Regions from separate parts of the Homo sapiens genome. Here region 1 is linked to region 2. Evidence: promoter capture Hi-C in human tissues and cell types (Jung and others, 2019). All regions are on one chromosome and are shown on one strand. Each heading gives the region's core, a stretch centred on a gene start or on the middle of the fragment in contact. The rest is flanking DNA. Distances are from core to core; before and after follow the strand shown. Region 1 holds the start of TRA-CGC1-1 (tRNA-Ala (anticodon CGC) 1-1). Region 2 holds the start of BTN3A1 (butyrophilin subfamily 3 member A1).

The links. The method cuts DNA at HindIII sites, captures the fragments that hold promoters and counts their contacts. A contact is called where the count stands out against the background at its distance.
Region 1: a fragment that was not itself captured here is called in contact with the fragment with the promoter of BTN3A1 in region 2 in 1 of the 25 tissues and cell types used here (spleen).

The regions. Positions count from the first base shown.
Region 1 is chr6:26,551,961-26,556,566 of GRCh38, reverse strand. TRA-CGC1-1 (tRNA-Ala (anticodon CGC) 1-1) reads right to left here and starts at 3,064; the gene lies at 2,993-3,064. It overlaps TRI-AAT5-1 (tRNA-Ile (anticodon AAT) 5-1), which reads right to left and starts at 2,445; the gene lies at 2,372-2,445. TRP-AGG2-2 (tRNA-Pro (anticodon AGG) 2-2) reads right to left here and starts at 1,297; the gene lies at 1,226-1,297. TRK-CTT2-4 (tRNA-Lys (anticodon CTT) 2-4) reads right to left here and starts at 21; the gene lies at 1-21. RefSeq lists silencers at 2,379-2,468, 3,059-3,108 and a cis regulatory region at 2,171-3,381. The HindIII fragment of the contact is 6,659 bases long and covers 1-4,606 here.
Region 2 is chr6:26,401,025-26,405,288 of GRCh38, reverse strand. BTN3A1 (butyrophilin subfamily 3 member A1) reads right to left here and starts at 3,014. Exons shown (of 10, transcript NM_007048.6): 1 at 2,877-3,014. RefSeq lists an enhancer at 3,047-3,106. The HindIII fragment of the contact is 20,018 bases long and covers 1-4,264 here.

The DNA of each region.
Region 1 (4,606 bases), core at 534-3,033, 150 kb before region 2:
TACCGACTGAGCTAGCCGGGCTCACCCGAACGTAGCTCTTCCCCCAATACACTAAGAGAATACATAATTTCTTTGGTATGATTAGGATTCTAGATTTCAATGTCTATGTTGGTTTTATAGGTAAGATGAAATGAAACTCAAAGGACGTAAACGTAACCTGAATCATTAGCATGCATTCCAGTCACTTTCTCTACATTTTCCCTCTTTTCCCCATTCTCACCAATTTGTGTTGATAGGCCGCAAAATGTTTCCAGGACCTAAAAGTCAGTGTCATTGGATGCTTACCAGAGTGACCCCTGCACTGGCACTCCCAAAACTCCAGACCCGGTTACCAATGTGGCTCCAAGCATAGTCCCAAGGACCTTAGGTCCTCGAGCCCAAACAATTTCCTGGACCCTCTCTGTGGCCCAGTGAGGCGTTCCTCTCTTGTTCTCATAACCCATCAATTCTTGCCCCTCCTGCCAAGCTATATGGCCCTCAAGAAAATGTCTGCGGTGTTCTCCCACCTTTGCGGGACCCGTATGTTTGCTCATTTGTTGTCCTTCATAATCAAGGCACACGTAGAAAAGGGGGCAGGGTTGCAATTATATTTTAATATAAAGTATCTGACAACCACTACAATATAGGATGCAGTGATTTTTGTATGTTGTGTTTACCGCCAACCGCAAAAGTAGATTCAGCACAACAGATTAAAAAAAAAAATCTACTTAATGAGTATACCAATGGTACGCTCCAGGAGGAGAGAAAAAATGCTCCTTCTCAGAAGAAAGCAGAACCGTGATCTGTGTGACAGAGTAGTACTTGACGCTGTAGCAACGAGGAAAGTCTAAATAACTCAAAGGTTCCTAACACCTTGACTCTTGATCTTCCCGTTTAAATCCATCCTTTGATGTAATGAATCAATAATAAATAGCATTGAATTAAGATGTGACCATTTTATTTCTAACATATTTCACATGAACACAATCGTGGAGTCGGAACTTCTAGAAGATCCGGAAACGTTTGCCTTTGCAAAAGTCTGTAGAGCGGACTAAAGAGAATCAAAAAAAAAAAAAAAACAAAAAACAAAAACAAAAAAAAACTCCTTAACTAGAGATCGCAACTCACTTGTTGGTTTCTAACGCATATCGATGCCACAATTATCGGCGCTTCTAACTGGCAAGTTTTAACTTATATACTAAGGTTGGGCGAAAGCAGCCAGATTCAGAAGCAAGGGACAAAACTAGGGCTCGTCCGGGATTTGAACCCGGGACCTCTCGCACCCTAAGCGAGAATCATACCCCTAGACCAACGAGCCGCCTGAGCATTTATTATTTTAGATGCGTTAAATATTTACCAAATTTCTTTTTTTTTAAATGTACGTGTAGCTATATGCAACTATAACTGATAATACCTTTAATTAATTTTGTTAAAAAAATTATCAGGTCAATGAGGCTCTCAGAATTTCTCCGAATTTTCCCTCAATCCAATCCTAAGGACTGTTATCTCAAAGGGCTCTTGACACAGCCTTTCTGAGAAACAGCTGTGGCGTTTGTTTAAAACGCAGAAATCTGGGTTCCTTCTCAAATCTGAGTAAAAGTCTCTGGAGGCGAGGCCCAGTAAGTTTCGTTTTTGACAAGCGCTAGAGCTCACCCACAGGTGTGGGGCTAACAAAGCCCACGTGGAGCTCGTGAGTTGCGATCAGCATTTTCCACAGAAAATAGTAAAACACCTGAAAAATCACTCAACAGGCTATACAGCTGTGAGGTCGTAAATAAACAGAGAGCATTAGTTGTACAAGGAACAGGGGATATTTAACATCAAGATGTGGACTGAGCAGTTATTCCCGGCGTTGGCCAACCTGGACCAACAGGTCCAGGTTGCTGATGTGAAAAAGGTAGATTTTGGAAAGGGGCATAGTCCTTTCTTGGGAAATCAAAGTAACAAGAAAATGTTTCTCTCGGAATGGAATTTCTGTCTTGATGTGTGAGTGTTGATCTTCCCAAGTAGGGATCCTTAATTGGGCAATCAGAGATAATGAACACTGCCTTCTCACACTTGCCCCACATTTCATTATCTGAAGATTTATCTGTTTTCAGACTATTTCAAGGACAGTGTTGGGGCACTAAACAAATTGGTGGCACTGTTTTGCCCTCTATTGAATTTAAATCTAACTCCTAAACTATCCTACTGCTTTTCTGCTTCTCATGAGCAAACATTTTGAGCACCATGACTTAAGAAAACAGGACCTCTGGACTTGCTACAAAGGTTTGGACTTCTGGCAAAGTGTTAGTTATAAAGGTTAGCACAGTCTTTCTTGTAGTAACAGTCCTCAGACAATTGATTTTTCCTTGTCTTTGGCCGTAAGTTACGTGATGGAAGAAAACAAAGTTGGCCCGTACGGGGATCGAACCCGCGACCTTGGCGTTATTAGCACCACGCTCTAACCAACTGAGCTAACCGGCCACCTGTCTCCAAGAAGTTTTAAAAACTGCATCAAGAATTTCATCAGTGTTTCGGAATGTTTTCATTTTTGTTATTCCCCTACGGGAGACCGGTGCACTAGAGCAGCCAAATTCGCCCGTGCTGAGCTGAGATTCATCCTTCTTTCGATATTTGTCCTATTTTTATCATCCTATGACTCACAGGACTAACAATAGCCCGTCTTCCCTCCCCTTTCCATGTTCTCAAGCCAAGATTATTTCTGCCCTAAAGGCAAACCATATACCACAAATAGGGCTCATTAATGGGTTCCGGGCAACTTTCCAGGTTGCTCCTCTTCTGTCATCTCCCCATTGGGCATGTTTTTCTGTGTTCTCAATTCCATTTGTTTCACATAGATAGTTCAAAATACTTCAAAGCAATCTTGTTCCCCGTGCTCCATATACAATTCTACATACAGTGGCTAAAAGAAAGCCATAAAAAGTTAAAGAAGTGGAGGATACAAAACACAATTATTTCACATTTTGAAATATAGTTTCTAATAGTATTGGGCAGATAGGATAAAACAACTTGGAGATGCCGGGGATCGAACCCGGGACCTCATACATGCGAAGCATGCGCTCTACCACTGAGCTACATCCCCTACCCTAAGAAACCGTTCTTTGTAGCTCTCCCTAGTTGTTTGTGAAAGATTTCTGCTACCACCCCACCGCCCCGCCGTCTCCGTCCTCCCATATCTGTCCCCGTCCCCATCTCTGTCCCCAAAATTCTAAGATTTGCGGACTGCTGAAACTAAATTCTCTTTTATTTGTCGAACAAAATCCTGAAATGGTTAATGGGGCAGCATCCATCAGTTTTCAAAGTGTGGAAAACCTTCCAGCCATCAGACATGCTTGTCAAATACTTAACCTACTGACCCAGGGATAGAACTATTGACAACTACCTGGAAATCTGACAAGAAAAAGGAGAGTGAGGACGCTTCTTCACAAACTTCTTTAATTTATTTTTCCTTTTTTAAGGAAAACCAAGGCAGGTGAAACCAAGAACTGCTAAATCAGTTTTCTCTATCTTTCGTCTCACAACAGCTTCCCTAAGTCCGTCGCCGAAAAGGTGATTCAATTACTCCCCTTTATGTGCACCAGCGTCAGATCAGGTTACTTTTGAAAATGTTTTGTTTGGGCCCAAGTTTAGAGAGAGGATTTGAGATATTTATCTGGGAAGCCTAGGAACTGAAGGCGAGCATTCTGTTAGTCCTTGACTGGACTGGATTATATGAATACATATATATGCGTGTAGAAAGATAGGTAGATGGGTAGGTGGGTAGATAGATAGATAGATGATAGATAGATAGATAGATAGATAGATAGATAGATAGATAGAATTTTGGGGGGATGTTAGTATGGATTTGTAATATGGTTAGACCTCGGTCTTAAAACGGACCCTCGTTATGGCTGAGCTTCTGTGCTGTTATTAGCAAGAATTTCTAAATTACCAGGTCCTTATTAAAATCGCAGCTGAACCTTCTAAAATCACCTTCTAGGTCAGATACATAGATTAATAAACCAGGGTTGATGCAGTTTGGACATTTTGTATGAAGCTTGGTAGCTCAGTCAGTATGGCCATGGACTTTTAATCTGAGGAACCAGGTTTCAAGTCCCTGTTCAGGTGTCGCTGTATTTCTCCTTTTTTATTTCCATTTCTTCATTTTTAACCCAATACGTACAGTATTCTTTCCTTATCAGCAGGAGATATGTTCCAAGACACACAGTGAATGCCTGAAACCTCGGATAGTACCATAGTATACTATGTTTTTTCGATCTGATAACCAGGATGAATACTAAGTGACTAAGATGTGGGGAGCGCATACCGCGTGGATAGTCTGGACAAAGGGATGATCCTCGGGCGGGTGGGAGATTTCATGACGCTACTGAGAAAGGGGAGTTATTTGAAACTTATGAATTTTTTATTTCTGGAATTTTCATTTAATATTTTTGGACCACGGTTGAAGGGGGTAACTGAGACAGCGGAAGGGAAACTATGGACAAGGCGGGAGAGGTTACTGCAGTTAGAGAGAGGAAGGTTAAGGTCAAGTCACGGGCTGATATCCCCGAATAAATGAAGGACTCTTGAGCTGACCATAGGTCTCATAACCTAGGAGCTGTTTAGAAAATAGATGGGCCTTTTG
Region 2 (4,264 bases), core at 1,765-4,264:
CTATGACTTCCCCAAACTTCCCCTGCCAAGTCCAACCCACCACAATCCCCCTCTGATTCATGCAGGACACTCTTCACTGGGCTCCCTGGTTCCACCGGGGTCGACCGCTGTGGGTGTCCCACACTGTGGACTCCTCAAAGCCCCAACTCTTGGCCATCACCATGGTCAACTCATGGCCTAGTGGACTCCTGGTAGGATTAAGGAAGACTGCTTGGTGGGGGACCTGAAGTCAGTCAGGGGCTGAACCCACCACATTTAATCCAAGGCTAGTGATCACAGAGCTGCAAATAAGACCAGGCCTTACTTACCTTTTCTTTCTTCCCTTCATAAAGTCATTCAACAAATATTTACCAAGCACCCACAAGGGGCCAGGCCCATGATATAAGGGTTAGGGACACAAAGAGGGTAAGCAATAAGTAAAGGCTCTAAGATTCACAAGCTCTTTGGTCTCAGACATGGGACAAAACCATTGCAACTTTATTTACTTATACAATATCATGAAGTGTGAAATTTAGAATTGCACAGTTGGCCCAGCAGTTCCACTTCCTGATGTCAAGTCGAGCAAAGTACTTGCATGGGTGCAGACAGAAGCCTCTGTGAGAATGACACTGCAGCACTATTTTTAAAGTATAAAAATGGTAACCAACTGAACCAGCCACCCATCAGGAGACTGCTTAGAGGAATGACGGCTCATCCCTCGGAGGGAATTCAATGCAGCAGGTAAAAAGAGTTGATTTGTTGTCATGAACCTAGATAACGGAGACACACTAAGTGATCAAAAAACACCTTGCACAACTATACTAAAGATTCAATTGAAGAACAGAAGCAAAGCTATCCATTTCTGCATAACTATTTATGTAAATGCCTGAAAAACTCAAAAAAGACGCATGCTAATCTGAAGATCAGAGGTTAGTGAGTGAAGGGACACTTGGCCTTTTGTTCCCTTTACTTTTAAAATATTGGAATGCTTTAAATTTAAAACTTTTCGTGTATTACTTAACAATAATTATTATGAGTTACAATAGTGACGGGAACATATTAGCTGCTCAGTAAATACTAACTCCTCAACAGTTTCTTCCAAAACAAAGGAGCATGAGGCCTGCAGCCATAATCCCTCTTGCTGTGGGTCTGGGAATGGCCTCTGAGAACAAGATCTGCAGAGGGAGGTGGGGAGGGATGTAAAGGAAACAAGAGAACAGAGATCTGTGCAGCCGGCCATGCTTCACCCCTGCCTGGATCTTGCACCCACCCAGAGTAAACAATGCATTTCACCACATCTTTTGCTCCTCGAAACTGCTCTTTATGTTGCTATAGAGGGGGTATCATTTTTATTATCATTTTCCCTGAGTTAACAATTTCTCTGCTGTCCTTAGAATGAGACATAAGTTTTTCTTCTTCATAAAGGATATATTTTTTTTCCTGATTATAGTCAATATTGCAAATGAAAAAAAGCATAAAGGAATACAAGTTTAAGTAGTGGTTCATGCCTGTAATCCTTGCAATTTGGGAAGTTGAGATGGGAGGATCCCTGGAGCCCAGGAATTCAAGACCAGCCTGGTCAACATAATGAAACCCCATCTCTACAAATCAATCAATAAATAAAATAAAATATCTATAGTAGTAGTCATATACTTTGGTAGTGAAAAGGTAAATATTTCTGGAAGTATTTTGACCATATATATATAAAGGGCCTTAAAAAAAGTTATATGCTTTGCTAAGGAATGGCTATTAAAAGAAAAAAAAAAGGTGTGTGCTTTGACCCAAATGTTCCACTTGTAGGAATTAGTGTTGCAGAAAAAAGAAAATCAGGAACTAAGACAAAAATTTATGTTTTAGGCTGCTCAATACAGTAAAATCTACAATAGCCAAATGCAGAAAAGAGAAATAGTCCAAACTAGGGAAGTGTTTAAAAATAATTTTAAAGGCTGGGTGTGGTGGCTCACGCCTGTAATCCCAGCTCTTTGGGAGGCTGAGGTGGGCAGATCACCTGAGGTCAGGAGTTTGAGACCAGCCTAGACAATATGGCGAAACTCCGAATCTACTAAAAATACAAAAACTAGCTGGGTGTGGTGGCGTGCACCTGTAATCTCAGCTACCCAGGAGACTGAGGCAGGAGAATCACTGGAACCCAGGAAGCAGAGGCTGCAGTAAGCCGAGAACATGCCACTGCACTCCAGCCTGGGTGATAGAGCAAGACTGCATCTCAAAACAAACAAAAAAATTGTATATTCATACAATGAAATAGATTGTATCCATTGGATAGCATTCGTTAGGTTTGGGGGAAATGATGAATAAAAGGAAAAACACATACTGTTCCTAAAAGATTTTAAAACAAGGTTTAATGTATGGATCTAACATTGCTAAAATTATAAATAATTGCCCTTCATTAAAAACACGATTCCTAAAGGCTGCATGGAAATCTCTTTTATGATTGAACCATGCATTGTTTGTCTATCCCCCGCCTGTTGTATATGTATGCTGGTTCAGGTTTTTCTACATTTTTAATACTTCTGTAATGAACAAATTTACATATGAATCTATAAAGGACACCTCTTTTTAGAATCTCTTAGAATAGATGCCTTGAGTTGTCCAGAACAGATTTTAAAGATTGTTTGCCCTTTTCTGACTACAATACGTTCTTAAGAACATGCAATTAGACTATTTCTTCACCAAATCCCAAACTCTGCAGGTCTTTATTCTTTGCACTACTTCTCCCCTTTCCATGTGTCCACATGTGTGCGTGCGCACCCCCTCAGGCACACACCCCTTTCTCTGGGTGAGTACTCTCCCTGCATGCCCACTCACCACTCTCAGCGATTCAGCCCCTGTCCTCCCAGGCATTGTGAACCAGGCTCTAATCGACTTCCCCCACTCACCTCTTAGCATTCCCCTCTGAAAATCACAGCCCACAGAAGAAAGGCAGTTAATAGTTCTCCATTCTTTCTACTATGGTTAAATCTCCTTCTGGAAGAAAGGAAAAAGAAAGCAGAGACTGTCGGGTCATCGTGAGGAATAATAACAATCTCTCTTTGGAAGAATAAGTTTTTTGATTGGCTCAGAGGTGATGTTTCTCATCAGTTGCTGGGCAGAAACCACTGAGGAAGGCTGAAATGAAAACTGAAAGTACATTGAATTGTACACGTTGAAGAAAAATTCCTGCCCTACCTCCCTTACTGTTTATCTCTTTCATTCTTGTGTGTATATACGTATTTCTATATAGTCACTTGTCTTAAGTCTTTTATCATAATAGAAATATCAGCAGAACACAATGGGAAAAGATTTTAATGTGGTGAAGAGAGAAAGATGAGCACTAATTAAAATGCTACTGTGGCAGTTTGCTAACATTTGCTTGCATGAATATGGGTACATGGAGGAGGAGGAGATTTTACTACAGAGTCAAATAAACGTATGAATGGAAAGAAAACCAGACACAATGCACTTTTTTTTTGAAACGGAGTTTCACTCTGTCACCCAGGTTGGAGTGCAGTTGCAGGATCTTGGCTCACTGCAACCTTCGCCTCCCAGGTTCAAGTGATTTTCCTGCCTCAGCTCCTGAATAACTGGGATTACAGGTGCTCGCCCCATGCCCGGCTACTTTTTGTATTTTTAGTAGAGACAGGGTTTTGCCATATTGGCCAGGCTGGTCTCAAACTCCTGAGCTCAAGTGATCCTCCCTCCTCAGATCCCAAAGTGCTAGGATTACAGGCTTAAGCCACTGCACCCGGCCCACAATGCACATTTTTAAGCACCTCCAGCATCCAGGCTTAGGATCTGTTATCAAAAAATGTAATTTTTCTGGCTTCCAGAGGCAGTGCTGCTTGACACGTTTTACCTTTTTCAGCAAATTTTTAGTGCAGGTGTTTCTGAGCATCTCCATTCACCCTCAGCTCCTGTTCTGTGCTACACTGTATTTTCCTGTGTATTTGTTTCTCCTGCTGCCAGTGGAGTACATATTCTCTGAGGCCAGACTCTAGATAAACTGTGAATGCTGTCTCTGTAAGATGTCTATAAAACAAATTGGTTCTTCCTGTGGCCTAGGACCTCAAAACAGACTTTCTGGGATTGCAAGTCAATGATCGAAGTTCCTAAGGCTAAGATGTGACTGGGGCTGATGCAATTTAATTATATTGTAAATGTTTGAATTTAGACTGTGTAGTATCTGATTGAGATGGCTGGTCCCTTCTGCATCATGCATTCCCCCTTTCTTCTTGGTGATAAGGCCTAATTTTCTTAGGTACTACAACGTTCTTTTCCATCTGGTAGA